Regions from separate parts of the Homo sapiens genome. Here all the other regions are linked to region 3. The links are contacts of gene promoters, found by promoter capture Hi-C in blood cells and fetal thymus (Javierre and others, 2016). All regions are on one chromosome and are shown on one strand. The core of a region is centred on a gene start or on the middle of the fragment in contact, and the rest is flanking DNA. Distances in the headings are between cores, read along the strand shown. Region 1 overlaps GLRX3 (glutaredoxin 3). Region 2 has its middle 77 kb from the start of GLRX3. Region 3 holds the start of LINC01164 (long intergenic non-protein coding RNA 1164).

Region 1 (4,444 bases), core at 590-3,089, 1.6 Mb after region 3:
GAGGCCAGGAGTTCAAGACCAGCCTGACCAACATGGTGAAATCTGTCTCTTAAAAAATAAATAAATAAGGCTGGGTGCAGTGGCTCATGCCTGTAATCCCAGCACGTTGGGAGGCCGAGGAGGGCAGATCACCTGAGGTCAGGAGTTGCAGAACAGCCTGGCCAACATGGTGAAACCCCGTCTCTACTAAAAATACAAAAATCAGTTGGGCATGGTGGCGGGCACCTGTAATCCCAGCTACTCAGGAGGCTGAGACAGGGAGAATCTCCTGAACCCGGGAGGTGGAGATTGTAGTGAGCCAAGATCGTGCCATTGCACTCCAGCCTGGGCTAGAGCGAGACTCCATCTCATTCATTCATTCATAAATAAATAAATGAAGTTAAGGTATCCTAAAACCAACAGATTGTTTAGTATTAGGAAACGCAGCAACTGGAGCCAATGAAGCCCCTATTTAAACTGTAGCAATAAATAAGGAAAATAAATCAAGTGACTTTCAAGGTTGAAGAATGAAGTAATGTGGCTGGGCGCAGTGGCTCACACCTATAATCCCAGCACTTTAAGAGGCCAAGGGGGCAGATCACTTGAAGTCAGGAGTTCAAGCCCAGCCTGGCCAACATGACAAAACCCATCTCTATTAAAAAAAAAATTAGCCAGGTGGGCATGGTGGCATGTGCCTGTAATTCTAGCTACTTAGGAGGCTGAGGCATGAAAATTGCTTGAACCCAGAAGGTGGAGGGTGCAGTGACCCAAGAGCCAAGATTGCACCACTGCACTCCAGCCTGGGTGACAGAGTGAGACTCTGTCTCGAAAAAAAGGAAGAAAAAAAAAGCAGTGTGACGTTAAAAGTCTACTCAAATATGATGCTTGTTCCCCTCCCGTTCTTCCACTCACAGAGAGGAATCAGGCTTTGCTATTGAAACCCAACCTGGCAACACATCTCTGCCTCAGGAAAAGCTAGAGTACCAGTAAGAGGGAAAGGCAGAAACCATTAAAAAGACCTAACAATTCAGAAACAGACATGGCATCAAAAGAGCTACCACCAGGTTGACTGGAACTGCAGTACAGGCGCCATGCTCCTTGTGCCTGTTTTTCAGATTTAAAATCTGGATTATAGACACCAAGCTTGAAAGGACAGACATGATAAATAAGATTTTCTGGTTTAAAGAAACATTTAGTATGATATAACATTTCAGGTTATCACTGAACAGCATAAACATCAATCAATAAAACCATTAAAATCCGTATGACCTCCTCTGGATGAAATTCAAATAGGAATGATGCTGTCACACAAAACCCAGACGGCTTTCAGTCATGTCTAGGGATCTTCTTCTACCTACTCAACAAGCAGACACCCTGCCCCTCCAAGGGACCCAGCAGGACTTTTCTGAGCACACACTCAAGAAGGCACGGAGAGGACCACGCAGCTGAGTGGGCAAGGGCAGGTGGCCCTCAGGTGGAATCTGGACTCAATGGCTTACTAGTTATGGGATGGTGGACAATTCACCTGACCTCTCTATGTCTCTGTTTCCTCATCTACTGACTAAGAAGAATTCTGCTCTCTGAGGCTGCTTGGGAGATTACGTGAAGCAGCCTCTTAAAGCACCAAAGCAGTGTGCCTGGAACATTGGGAGCGCGCCAAATAAGGCAGTCCTCGCCACCCTCACTGCTGTTAATGCGAGCCGGCAGGTGGAAAGTCTAAACCTAACCAAATCTTCTATCTCTCTCAACAAACTGTCTTAAGTCCAAACATTCTGGAACAGCAGTAGTGAACCGTTTACTCTTCAGAGGCAATAACAACTCACAATTTTCTCAGGACACTAGATTAGCTGAGTAACTAAATCATCATTCAGTCCCTCATTCAACAAAACAAACGCTCATTGCTCCAAAGAGGCCAGCCAGATTAGACCATTTCAAACATCTTTTAATTGAACTGAACATGAAGAACTGCATTCTGCAAGAAACAGATCAAAATGGGATCGTAAGATCTATTCCATATATCTTCTCAAGGAAAAACGTTAACAATATCACACATTTCAAACGTATATGTTCTTAGCAGGTGAACATAAAAAATCATATAACACTCTGTTATATAACTAAAAAGAAGTTACCCACGCAGCTTAGCTTTAGAATTAAATGAGATTTATTGATTGTATCTTCCCAAGAGTTACCAATGGCTAAGGTACAGGCTATAAAACATTCAGACAAGAACAGGCTCAAGAGTATTTGGGGTTTGAGTATTCTTTGTGTCTTACAAAAATAAGACTATATATATATATATAGAGAGAGAGAGAGAGAGAAAGAGGGAGGGAGGGAGGGAGGGAAGGAGGGAGGGAGGGAAGAAACAAATGCAGATCTGTTTCTGCTGCTTCAGGGCTATTCAAGAGCAATAGTCTTAAAAATTTTTTCCTCCAGGAGTGAGACCATTCCCCAGGAAAAATGTCTCACTGGCTTGTTTAAGAAGTATGATATCAAACCTGGAACTCCACAGGAAACAAAACCTACACAGAGGCCACCAAAGGACAAAAAGAGCCTCTGCATCAATGGAACTCAAGCTTTGTTTTTATAAAACATATTGGTCCAAAGTGCTGATGTCATTTCAGTGGTAGGCTAGTGCTTCACTTTACAAAAGCACGTGTTAAAAACTTTTATTTTGGCCAGGCGCGGTGACTCATGCCTGTAATCCCAGCACTTTGGGAGGCCAAGGTGGGCGGATCACCTGGGGTCAGCAGTTCAAGACCAGCCTGGCCAACATGGTGAAACCCCATCTCTACTAAAAATACAAAAATTAGTGGGGCGTGGTGGCGGGTGCCTGTAATCCCAGCTACTCAGGAGGCTGAGGCAGGAGAATCACATGAACCTGGGAGGCAGAGGCTGCAGTGAGCCGAGATTGCACCATTGCACTCCAGTGGGGAACAAGAGCGAAACTCTCTCAAAAAAAAATGTAAAAAAAAAAAAAAAACTTTTATTTTACAACATAACTAGAAGTAGTACTACTTGCTATTTGTTTTCCACATAAAAAGTCGAAGATCTGACCTCAGAAAATTCTCTCATGGATTGAGGCAAGAGGAAGGCCTGAGGGCAGTCAGCAACCCACTTTTCGGGGCAGTTTTGTTCATGCCCCTGAGCAGACCCTGGCATTCCTGCCCAGCATTCCTGTCTAGCTCCTCTCTATACCCAACCAGCTACCACCCTCCTCGATGCCACCATGCCCACAGTGGGCCTGGGGTGCAGTGGGGTCTGTGTGTAGATATTAAAGCTACAGCTTCTGTTTATTGTTTTGGGCTAATCAAAGAGCTACAGAGCACACAGGTGTTAGTTGGTGGGCCTGCCCTGAATTCTAGACATTAAATACATGCAAAGTAACGTCCATTTAAAACTCAATCAAGAAGTAAAGTCACTTATCCATCCAACAACCATTTACTGAACTCCTAAAATACACAAAGCATCAGGAAGGACTCAAGATACATAAGAAATGGTGTCTTATCTAAAACACAATCTAACAGATAACAGATTTCCAAGCATCTCAAAACCAAAAAGGACCTACATTTTTTCTTTCGGGGGACCAGGGGCAGTGATCCTCAGCCTCTGTGGCAAGGATGGGCAGCACCGGGCCACAGGCCTCACACTGCTGTCACTCCATGCACCCAAGGGCAGATGAGTAAGGCAAGAAAAAACAATTTGTTGTCTGGGAGCTGAAGCAGGATCTAACAAGGACCCTGAGTGACAGGGAAGATCACCCCACAGAAAGGAGATGCAATGGTTAGCTCAGGTGTGAAAGTAAGAACAGGCTGCCACGTGGGGACAGTGAGAATGGCAGGGTAGTCATGCACACAGAAACGGTGATACTGGTCTAGAAATGTCTGAGAGTCAGGCTGGAAACAGGAGTCAAAAACAACTCTCAAGTTTCCATTCAATATGAAATCATTTTTAAACATACCAAAATCTTTTCCGTTCTTTAGAACAGCAGAAGAACTGGCCTTACCTTCACAATATCCAATCCTCCCACCAGCTCCCCTTTCACATACAGCTGAGGGTATGTTGGCCAATTTGAGTAAGCTTTTAATCCTTGCCGAACCTAAAGAAACAACAGGAATCCTGAAACCATCCTATCAGGCCCTTAAGATTAAAGCTAAGACAAGGGTGAAACATCAAACACAGAACTTACTTCTTCATCCTCCAATATATCGAATGTTTCATATTCAACACTGCAAAAAAGAGAAGACATTTTAACTGGAAATACAGTTAAATCAAAGTGTAAAACCTCTATGCATTTGATGTTTTTAAAATAATCAAGAAAACCGTTTCACTGCTAACAAAATGTACTACAGACCAATGGAAATGATTTTACTTCTTAATCTGTCTGGTACTACACAGAATTAGTCATTCCAACATATGACTTTATCTGGATTTTTCTCCGGACAATATTGGGTTAGACCAGGGGTGG
Region 2 (4,347 bases), core at 1,079-3,578, 1.6 Mb after region 3:
CAAAGCTGAAAAGGAAGTCAACTTTGACTCAAATAAATTTGCTAAATAAAGGTCTATGAAGCAAGGGCACAAAATGAAGGCAACCAGGACAGGATGCGACACCACCTCCAGGGCCTGTGGGGATTCCCAAGGTTGTCTGTCCAAAAGCTCATCAGATTCTGCTGTCAACGTGAAGCTGATGTTTAGTGCAAACAGGCTGCAACTGACTGGGGAAGCAACAACCAGTGAAGTGCCTCTGCACCTGCCACTTCACTCTCCACCAATGAAGTGCCTCTGCACCTGCAGGCCTCCCCCACCAGCCAAGGCCACACCTTGCCAGGCCAGGTTAGGACACCCAGGATGGCCGGGCCAGCCATTCACCGCCTGGGCCCTCTTGGCCTCCAAGGAAGCTGGAGCTGGTTTTGATAGAGCTGCCAGCGAGCAGGACCAGTCCTGTGACCCCAGCCCACGGGGGTACATCGAAGGCCTCACCTCCCAGGCTGCTTCTGATGGTGCTGATGGCATTGATTTTGTGTCAGAAGTTAGCAGGATTCTGTTTTAAGTGGTAATCTTGCAGCTGACCCCTGGAATGCATTATTAATGAGCGCCGCATCTCCAACAGCCGGTACAGCCCTCTCAGGGCAGTGTGTATCTCCTGGGCCACAGGGTACAGAATCAGAAGCCCAGAAGGACCCAGGAGGCAGCAGTCTGCAGTCGCTTCCAGCACCGCTGTCATCAGGCCCTGACCCCAAATCCCCTGGGCATGCATTTAGCACGCACATGTAGGGCCCCAGCCCAGGAGGTGCAGATACAGTAGCTGGGGATGGGGCCCAGGAACCTGCATTTTCAACAAGCCCCTACTAAACCAGGTGGCCCCTGAGTTGGAGTCCCCACCTTTGGGGGCACTGCTGCATGTCAGCTTTCTCTCTGGTTTTCTTTTTCAAATTCACCTGGGTAAAACATTAACCAATATTTTTGAAATATGTGCACTATATACCGAGGGCCAGTGACGATAGGACTGTTAAACGAACACACTACATACTGACGGCCAGTGACGATAGGACTGTTACATGGATACACTATATACCATTGGCTATGGCCAATGGTGATAGGACTATTAAATGAACACAGCCAGATCCACCCCTCTCACCCTCCTAGGGCTCTCCAAGGCTGGCCACAGGCCTGGAAACCTGCGTCTTTAAAACTCTTCAGGTGATTCTGACATTCACACAGGTTGGGAACCCATCTATGATGTGATGAGTTTAGAAGCGAGACATGCTGAAATACATCCTAGTCACTCCCTCTTGCACTCATAAAGCATGGCTCCCAAGGTGCACAGCACACCACCTTCAGGCCCCGGAGCACGCTCTGAAGGCAGCAGAGGCAGCGGCAGCAGGCCTGTATCTTAGGATTCACCAAGTACAACTCCCCCTGGAAAATGGGCCCTCCCATGCCCAGACCTTCCCTCTCCTCCACCTCCTCCTGAGTGGCGATTACTGCACCAGGCCTTCCAGACCCTTCTTGACCCCCGTTGGAGGTGATGGTTTGGGACACCAGTGAGACCTCCTGCCCTAGCCTGCTTTGGATTCAGTCCTGTTTTGGGATCTCTGTTCTAACCTCCACCTATTTCCTCACCACGAGCAGTAAAACACAAAGAGGAATCCACCACCTGGAACACACTGGGTCCCAGAAAGTCCCTCAGGAAAACAGCTGCTGCTGGGAGGACTGGAAACTGCGCTTCGCTACCCATCCCCAGACCCCGCACAGACCCTCCTGGTGACCTCTGCAGTAGAGAGGGGTTCCAGCAAATGCACAGAGCATGAGCCAGAGGAGGCCAGGGACGAATAGGGTCCTGCGGTTTTGTTTCGATTTTTTCAATCGCATGGTAAGCCTTCCATTTGGAGTCAATTCAGAATTCTCAAAAGGACATGGGTCTATAGACTTAGGAAAGGCCCCGGAGACCCCCCTGTAAACTCACCTGCCATTCCGGGCCACACTGGCCCCGAGGCGCTGCAGGCTGGGGATCTGGGTGCTGGAGAGGCGCCTCCCTCCCCAGAGCTCTCCAAGGCCCAGCGGAGTCGCGCAAGCTCAGGAGGCCTTCGCGGGAGCGAGGGTTCTTGTGGGAATGGGGGAATGGAACGCGCTCACACATCAGGAGCCCTGGTCCTGGAGGCTGAGTGACGGACTCCGTGCACCCACAGTCTAAAGCAAGCGGTTAGACAGCCCTGGGCAGTGGAACCTCGCAGTCCTTTAGCGGTCCCCACGCCACTTCCCTGTCAGGGTGAGCCGAGGCCTCAGGTTTTCTTCTTCTTGAACCTAGGCTGCCTGTGACTGAAAGGTTCTCCCTGGGGCCTGAAAGCTGAAGGGAACGAAGAACTCCTCCCTCCTCGGGTCCCGAGGGGCAAGACCACTCGCGCCAGCAGCGTGGGTCAGCAACATAGCAGGAGCAGGAGGAGGGTCGGCCGGAAGACGCGCACCCCCGAAGACCCGGAGAGAGGCCATCCGGGTACCGCGTAGCAGTTACGTCAGACTGAGACACTTCCTGTTTCCAGGAGACCATAAAACCCCTGCCCCGCCCTCATTTGGTGCTGACGCCATTTTAGGCCTCGAGCCGCCCGCACCTGGGCGCTCGCTGAAACAGCCTGTCGCTCCACACCGCCTCGTGTTGTCTGTCGGCGCTCTCGGAGTTCCAACCAACACGAGAGCCTTGCGGTGACAAGGCCCAGGTCACAGACGGGGTGGCTTAGGATCCAGTTGCAGTTCCCTCTGCCCTTTCCGTCACCCTTTTCTTCCTTTCAAGGATCCAAATTCCACTGAACCTGACCATCTTTTCCTGAGCCCTCGCCTCTCACAGCCCCAGAGAAAGTTCAGGCCAGGAAACAGCTTCCCCCAGCTTTGGGACAAGTTTTTAGGCAGACAAGTTCTGACTGTACCAGATGTCCCAGCAGGACCTGCTAATATGAATCCATTAGCAAATATTTACTAGAAGTTCCTAAGTACATGTCCTTAATTTTGCCAATTAAGTTCCCAACTGCTATGGTAATGGGTACTGTAAAAATCCTAGGGCAATAAAAGCCATTAGATTTATGACAGCTGGGAAAGGCCCGGGGTAGGGGGCTGGGCTGTTCAGGTCAGGAGTCACTCTCACATTTGTTTATTCCAAAGGGCGATGTTTATTTCTGTGTCCAGCCTTGTGCTGGGCGCTGGGGACTGGCAGGGGTAAGATGGGAGGACATTGATGTGAGCCCCGTCCTGCCACAGAAGGAGATCAGAGCAGGAGAGTACCGGGCATTGGAGGCCGTCTGGAGGCAGGGGTCCCCAGTGGGAGGGGAGGGGAAGGGGGCCTGATGGGAGCTTCCCGCCCCCACCCCAGAAGCCTGTCCATCAGGCATAGCAGACGCCGGCTGGGGACCCTGGAAATGTTTCATTTCTGGCAACAAACAAAATGGTGAACTTCTTCACTATACTCATCTTTGCACCAACACAATCTAAAATACAATTTTTAATGTTTTTTGTAGAGTAAGGGCCCAGGAATGTCATCAGGAGGCCCTGGGAAGGGTCCAGGCAAAGGAGGGGTCCCAGTGCTCAGAGAGCTCTGATGCAGCCCAGACCACGGCGCTCCCCCACCCACCCGATGCCTCCTGAGAGACGAGGTGGCTCCAGCAGAAAGAAAAGTGTGAGAGGGACAAAGACTCCCTCAGTGGCTCCCCCCAGGAGGAGGAGCTTCCAGAGCAGGCGGCTAGTTCTGACCTGGGAGAGTGTTGGAGGAGCAGACCCTCCCGCTACTTGCACCCTGGGGTCTCCAGGGCTACCGACCAGCCCCAACAGCGCATCACCCACAAGACTGGTGTGTTTACACAAAGCAGGTAACCCCAGTGCTGAGTGGCCACCAGGGCTGCATGTGGCTGTGTGCAGGACCATCACCCTTGCCCACACAGCAGTTCAGCAGCCTTGGAGGAGGAGCGGCCTTCCCAGGAACCAACAGCTCAGCCACTCCGGGCCAGAGGCTGGAACTGAAGGGGAGGGAATTGTCCACACAGGTACCACTGGGCGTGGGGTCCTCACTCTGTTACACCCAAAGTCAGGCCAACCCCATGAAGGGAGTTTAGACCCAGCTGTGTCAAAGAGCAAGCTCTGGAAGTAATGCCGGTTGCCCTGCAGAAGCATCCGCACCTGAAGCCCCCGCCCCAGGTTGAGGCAATCCATTTGATGAAAGGGACAGGCACCTGCGGAAAGGGCGTGCATGAGCATGGCAGTGGCAGCTGTGGCTGACATCAGAGTCTCTCATCCCACCTCAGTCTCATGCCACCGCCATGGCTTTCTTTCGCCTATGGAATAAAGTCCTCTTGTTTTGTCATGGAGTTGAAA
Region 3 (4,591 bases), core at 1,527-4,026:
TGCTCATCACTGACCCCAGTACCAAACCCCGCTTGCTCAAGGAGGAGTGCTGGGCGTCATGGCCAGAGGGCTGCAGGCCTGCCCAGCTGCCCCTTATCACAGTCTCTGGGCTCCTGGCTTCTTTGGGAATTTCTGTTTTGGTTTTCAAAGTGTATCCCTTGTTGCTGACAGTTGGTTATTTTTTAAAGGCACAGACATGGCAAGAGTCAAAAGTCCTCCAGGCTGAGAGTGAACACATATTGTGAGGGTGAGCATGCTGGCTTCAGCACATCCAAATGGGGTCCCTCAGGGTGTCCCCCGTCATTTGTGCCCAGCAACTTCCACATGTCTCCCAGGTTCTCCTCGTGTCCTACCCCTCTTAGGTCCTGGACGCCGACCTGCGGGGCTACATCTGTGAGTCTCCTTCCCCTCTGGCTTCTGCTGGGTTTGGCCAAAGGGACCTGGGCAGGGGTGTGGAGAAAGAGAATGGAGAGTGGTCAGAACCTTTATTTTCTGCTCCCTCCCCCGGGGCAGCCTGGAGCTGGCTGCGCCCCTCCCCTGAGGGCTTGGTTCCTGTTGGGCGGTCCTCTGCTCTGGGGCTCACCACAGGACTCCCCAGTTTCCTGTCCCCAGTGGTGGTGACAGAGCCTTGCTGTGATTCCCAGGTGTGGCCTCCCTGACCATCCCCACACCTCTGTACTGACCCCCTTTTGGGACCTTCTGTGAGTTGCCCAATTCAATTGAGTGTCCTGTCCTCTATGCAGGCTGGGATGGAGTTGAGAAAGACCTGTTCGACCCTCATTCAAATCCTGCTTGCTGACATGTCCTCCGCTCTTTGGTGCTGTGGCCAGCCAGGACCAGCTCCCCTCACCCTGTCCCTGCACCCACTGCTACCCAGACGCTTTTCCTGCTGTGGCCACGGAATCTGAATGGCCGGGGTCCTGCCAGCTACATATTAGGGTGGGCTTCCTTGTGTTTGTCTGGGAGCAGTGTGCAGATGTGGATTATCAAAAACCACGTTCTACCAGCAGATCTGGGCTTCAAAGAGCACCTTCTATTGTGTAAATGGAATTGAAAAAGCTCATCATGGAAAACGAGAAGCATTTTCAGCTCCTAAATTAGAGAATTTATGGTGATAAATCAAGAGTGTCTGCTCTAATAATCACAGGAAAAAACATGATAATATGATTTAATCTTAAAATATTTCTAACATAATATTAGAAAAATTATATTTCAGCTAATGTCTGGTTAGCCTGTTGTGAATGTATGCAAATATCTCAGGAAATATTAATATATACTGCCAGCTTTAGCTAATTAAAGAAATAGTTTTAGGAGTAACGGCCTCCTGATAATTTAATCACCGTTCAGTCTTTGCAGATAATTATGGTATTTGTTATTAAGTTCTCTCTGATTTTCCGAGGAATGAGAAATCTGATATAATCTTTTACTATGTGAGCCAAAAATTAAATTTTATTTCATTGTGAAAATTGTTGTGATCTGAAGATTTTAGAGCCAAGCTCCAGAAACGCTTCTCTCTTCTAGAACTGCCCAGTGTTGTGTTTTACAGGACTTGAACCCTGGGTTGCTGAGGAAGTGAACAGCTCTATGGCCAATAAAAGGCAATTAGGCTGAGATAAATTGTTGTGGAACAAATGATCTCATAAGAAGGTTTCCTTATGCTTACGCCTTATGAATAATCTTCTTACAAAGACTTTTTGAGGTATAATTTTAAAAATGATACTAATCATAGCATTTTAAAAAATAAAAAAGTGAAATGACCCAAAGTGTTTAATGATAATAAGATGGCCCAATAAATAACCTGCACTGATGTAATCCACATTAAAGGCAATATGATTCAGTCTTTAAAATTAAATTTTCAAAGAGTTCTTAAGACTGTTGTAGTTATAACTTTAAGTGAAAAAAAAGAGAAAATTATTTAAGTCGGCATGACCAAAAAAATCCATAGAAAAAAACGGAAAGGAAATATATAAAAAATGTTAAGTAGGTCCCCCAGAGTGGTGAAATTATACAGGTTGAGCATCTTGAATCTAAAAATCTGAAATCTGAAATGCTCCAAAATCTGAAACTTTCTGAGTGCTGACATGATGCTCAAAGGAAATGCTCACTGGAGCATTTTAGATTTTAGACTTTTGGATTCAAAATGCTCAACCATTAAGTGTAATGTAAATATTCCAAAATCCAAAACTCAAAACCTTTCTGGTCCCAACCATTTTGAATAAGAGATAACCTGTAGGATATTTTCATTTTCTTATTTTCTACTTCTATTTATTCTCCACATTATGTACCTGGCACATAGAAGATGTTTAATAACTAAGTATTGCTGAGTGAATAGTCAGGATAAGAACTCATTACTTTTTAGTCCATTTTTGGGAACTTAGGTTACAAAGTCTGCAGGGCCAGTGTTGTGGAAGTCACTGCTCTCTCCGACTCTTGGCAGGAAAAAGAGAAGTAGACTGCCTGTCTGCCAATGATGGCAGTCCCTGTGGGATACAAGGATGAGTGTGCCTGGTGCCCTCTCTACTGGAGCTCCAGTCCAGAGCTGGTGATGTGTCGGTGGACAAAGGACCGTGATAAAAGAAAGAATGGAGCAAGGACAGTCATCAAGTTCTCAGGGTGATTTGCTCACTGAACATCCCTGCTCCTCTGAAGCAGGCAAAGCAAGGGGACTTGCCTTGGCCAATGAAATTCAAGTACAAGTGTCATGTGGCAGTAGGGCCATGTGACTTGCCTTGGCCAATGAAATGTGAGCAGAAGTGTCATGGGGCTCTGCTGGGCAGAAGCTAAGAGCCAGCACTTGTTCACCATGTGCTCATTTCCTGTCTCTATGACAGGCTGCCGTGCTCCAGTTTGCGAATGCCCATCCACCTGTGAAGGGCTGAGCCAAGCCCTGGGCACGTGGTGAGTGACAGGCAGATCTTTGTGGAGGGAAGCCTCTGTGATTGCAGGACATTTGTTACTCGGTATAACCCAGCCTGTTCTAACTGACAGTGAACACAGCTCTGATTTACAGATAACACTGTGCTAACAAATCTATCATGTGCGTCTTACATCCTTGAATGTCATTGTAGGTTGGGGGTTGGGGTCTGAGTTCTGGTCCATTTTCCCCAGGCTTCATCTCCTGTGTCAATTCAGGCAAGAGGAAGAGAGAGGAGGAAGCTTCTAGATCCAAGCCAGAGGAGGTGGATGCAGCATCTGCCGCCCACAGCTTTGGGGCCTGGCCCAGCCTCCACCTGGCCGAGACACCCAACCCCGACCCCACCCACATGGGCGTGCAGAAGAGCCTGAGATGGTGCACACTGACCCATGGCAGAGTTACAGGTGACATTTCTTTTGTTTCTACATCCTAAATCTTTCTACAGTAGATGAACGTTTTGTAAGAGGACTTTTGCTGCCAGTTAGAAATGCATATTGCTGATGCACCCTCTGCAAGACCTTCTGAATCCAACGCCCTGGCGCAGTGGTCCTCAACCTTTTTGGCACCAGGGACACGTTTTGTGGAAGACAATTTCTCCACAGACTGGGGGTGGGGATGGTTTGGGGATGAAACTGTTCCATCTCAGATCATCAGGTATTAGATTCTCATAAGCAGTGGGCAACCGAGATCCCTCAAAAGCACGGTTCACAATAGGGATTGTGCTCCTATGAGAATCTAATGCCGCTGCTGATCTGACAGGAGGGTGAGCTTGGGTAGCAGTGCTCCTCAGCCTGCTGCTCACCTGCTGTGTGGCCTGGCTCCTAACAGGCCACAGACTGGTACTGGTTCATGGCTGGGAGTTGGGGACCCCTACCCTGCTGGATGGGGAGTCTCTAAGGTGTCATGGATGCCAGTGCAAAGCCTGTCTCCCCTGTGCCTCCCCTGTACCTCCCCCGCACCTCCCTGCACCTCTCTCTAGCCCTATTCCAGTGCCCTTCTTGGTGATGATGAGGCAGCTGAGGCCAGGGGCTTATTACTTCCCCAATTGCCACTGGCAATGGGGTTCCTCTGTGTGCTGGATTGGCGAGGGGACTAGCCCCCAAATTCTATCCTGAAGGTCTGCTATCTAGAGCTTTCAGGTGTGGTATCAGTGGTCTTAGATGGAGCTTCTCCAGCAGAGCTAGGGACAAAGGCTTGAGTTCAGGCTGTTTCTTTGGGCAGGGGTCTCAGGGCTCAGGCGAGCAGGAGTGAGTTGAGCGAGGGAGGGAAGGAGTGAATGGGAATACCAGATGGCTTATCCAATCGACAGCCGCTTGGAGTGGCTGATGCTGGGCTTTTTGAGACCTTCTGAGGCCCTTTATGAAATGCATCTCAGCACAGTCTCCTTGGGACAGTAAAGGAAAGAGAACTTATTATCTGCTTCTGTCCTGGCCGTGGAGGCCCTGTCTTTGGAGACTTGCATAACTGTGATTGCTGAGCAGCCTCCTGCAGGTGACCCCGGGGCCAAGGCAGGAAGTAAGAGGTGAGCAGATCTCCGAGCCCAGGTGGTGTCAGGTGACACCTATGCAAAGTGGATCAGAGCCTGGGAGGTACTGGGTGAAGTGCGAGGTGAGGCTGGGAGGGTTTTCATGTGGGGTATAAAAGGTATCCCATAGAATTACCTTACATAATGAGGTT

The links. The method cuts DNA at HindIII sites, captures the fragments that hold promoters and counts their contacts. A CHiCAGO score of 5 or more calls a contact.
Region 1: a contact is called between a fragment that was not itself captured here and the fragment with the promoter of LINC01164 in region 3, in 3 of 17 cell types (naive CD8 T cells, total B cells and total CD8 T cells). The highest score is 8.9, in naive CD8 T cells.
Region 2: a contact is called between a fragment that was not itself captured here and the fragment with the promoter of LINC01164 in region 3, in 2 of 17 cell types (endothelial precursors and naive CD8 T cells). The highest score is 10.2, in endothelial precursors.

Annotation. Positions count from the first base shown.
Region 1 is chr10:130,174,628-130,179,071 of GRCh38, reverse strand. GLRX3 (glutaredoxin 3) reads right to left here. Exons shown (of 11, transcript NM_006541.5): 9 at 4,166-4,205; 10 at 3,983-4,075. Among named protein-coding and RNA genes, the nearest start is that of GLRX3, 40 kb to the right of the region's middle. The HindIII fragment of the contact is 1,430 bases long and covers 1,125-2,554 here.
Region 2 is chr10:130,211,640-130,215,986 of GRCh38, reverse strand. No RefSeq gene overlaps it. Among named protein-coding and RNA genes, the nearest start is that of GLRX3, 77 kb to the right of the region's middle. The HindIII fragment of the contact is 5,254 bases long and covers 1-4,347 here.
Region 3 is chr10:131,788,384-131,792,974 of GRCh38, reverse strand. LINC01164 (long intergenic non-protein coding RNA 1164) reads left to right here and starts at 2,776. Exons shown (of 5, transcript NR_038365.1): 1 at 2,776-2,898; 2 at 3,109-3,318. The HindIII fragment of the contact is 4,036 bases long and covers 1-3,158 here.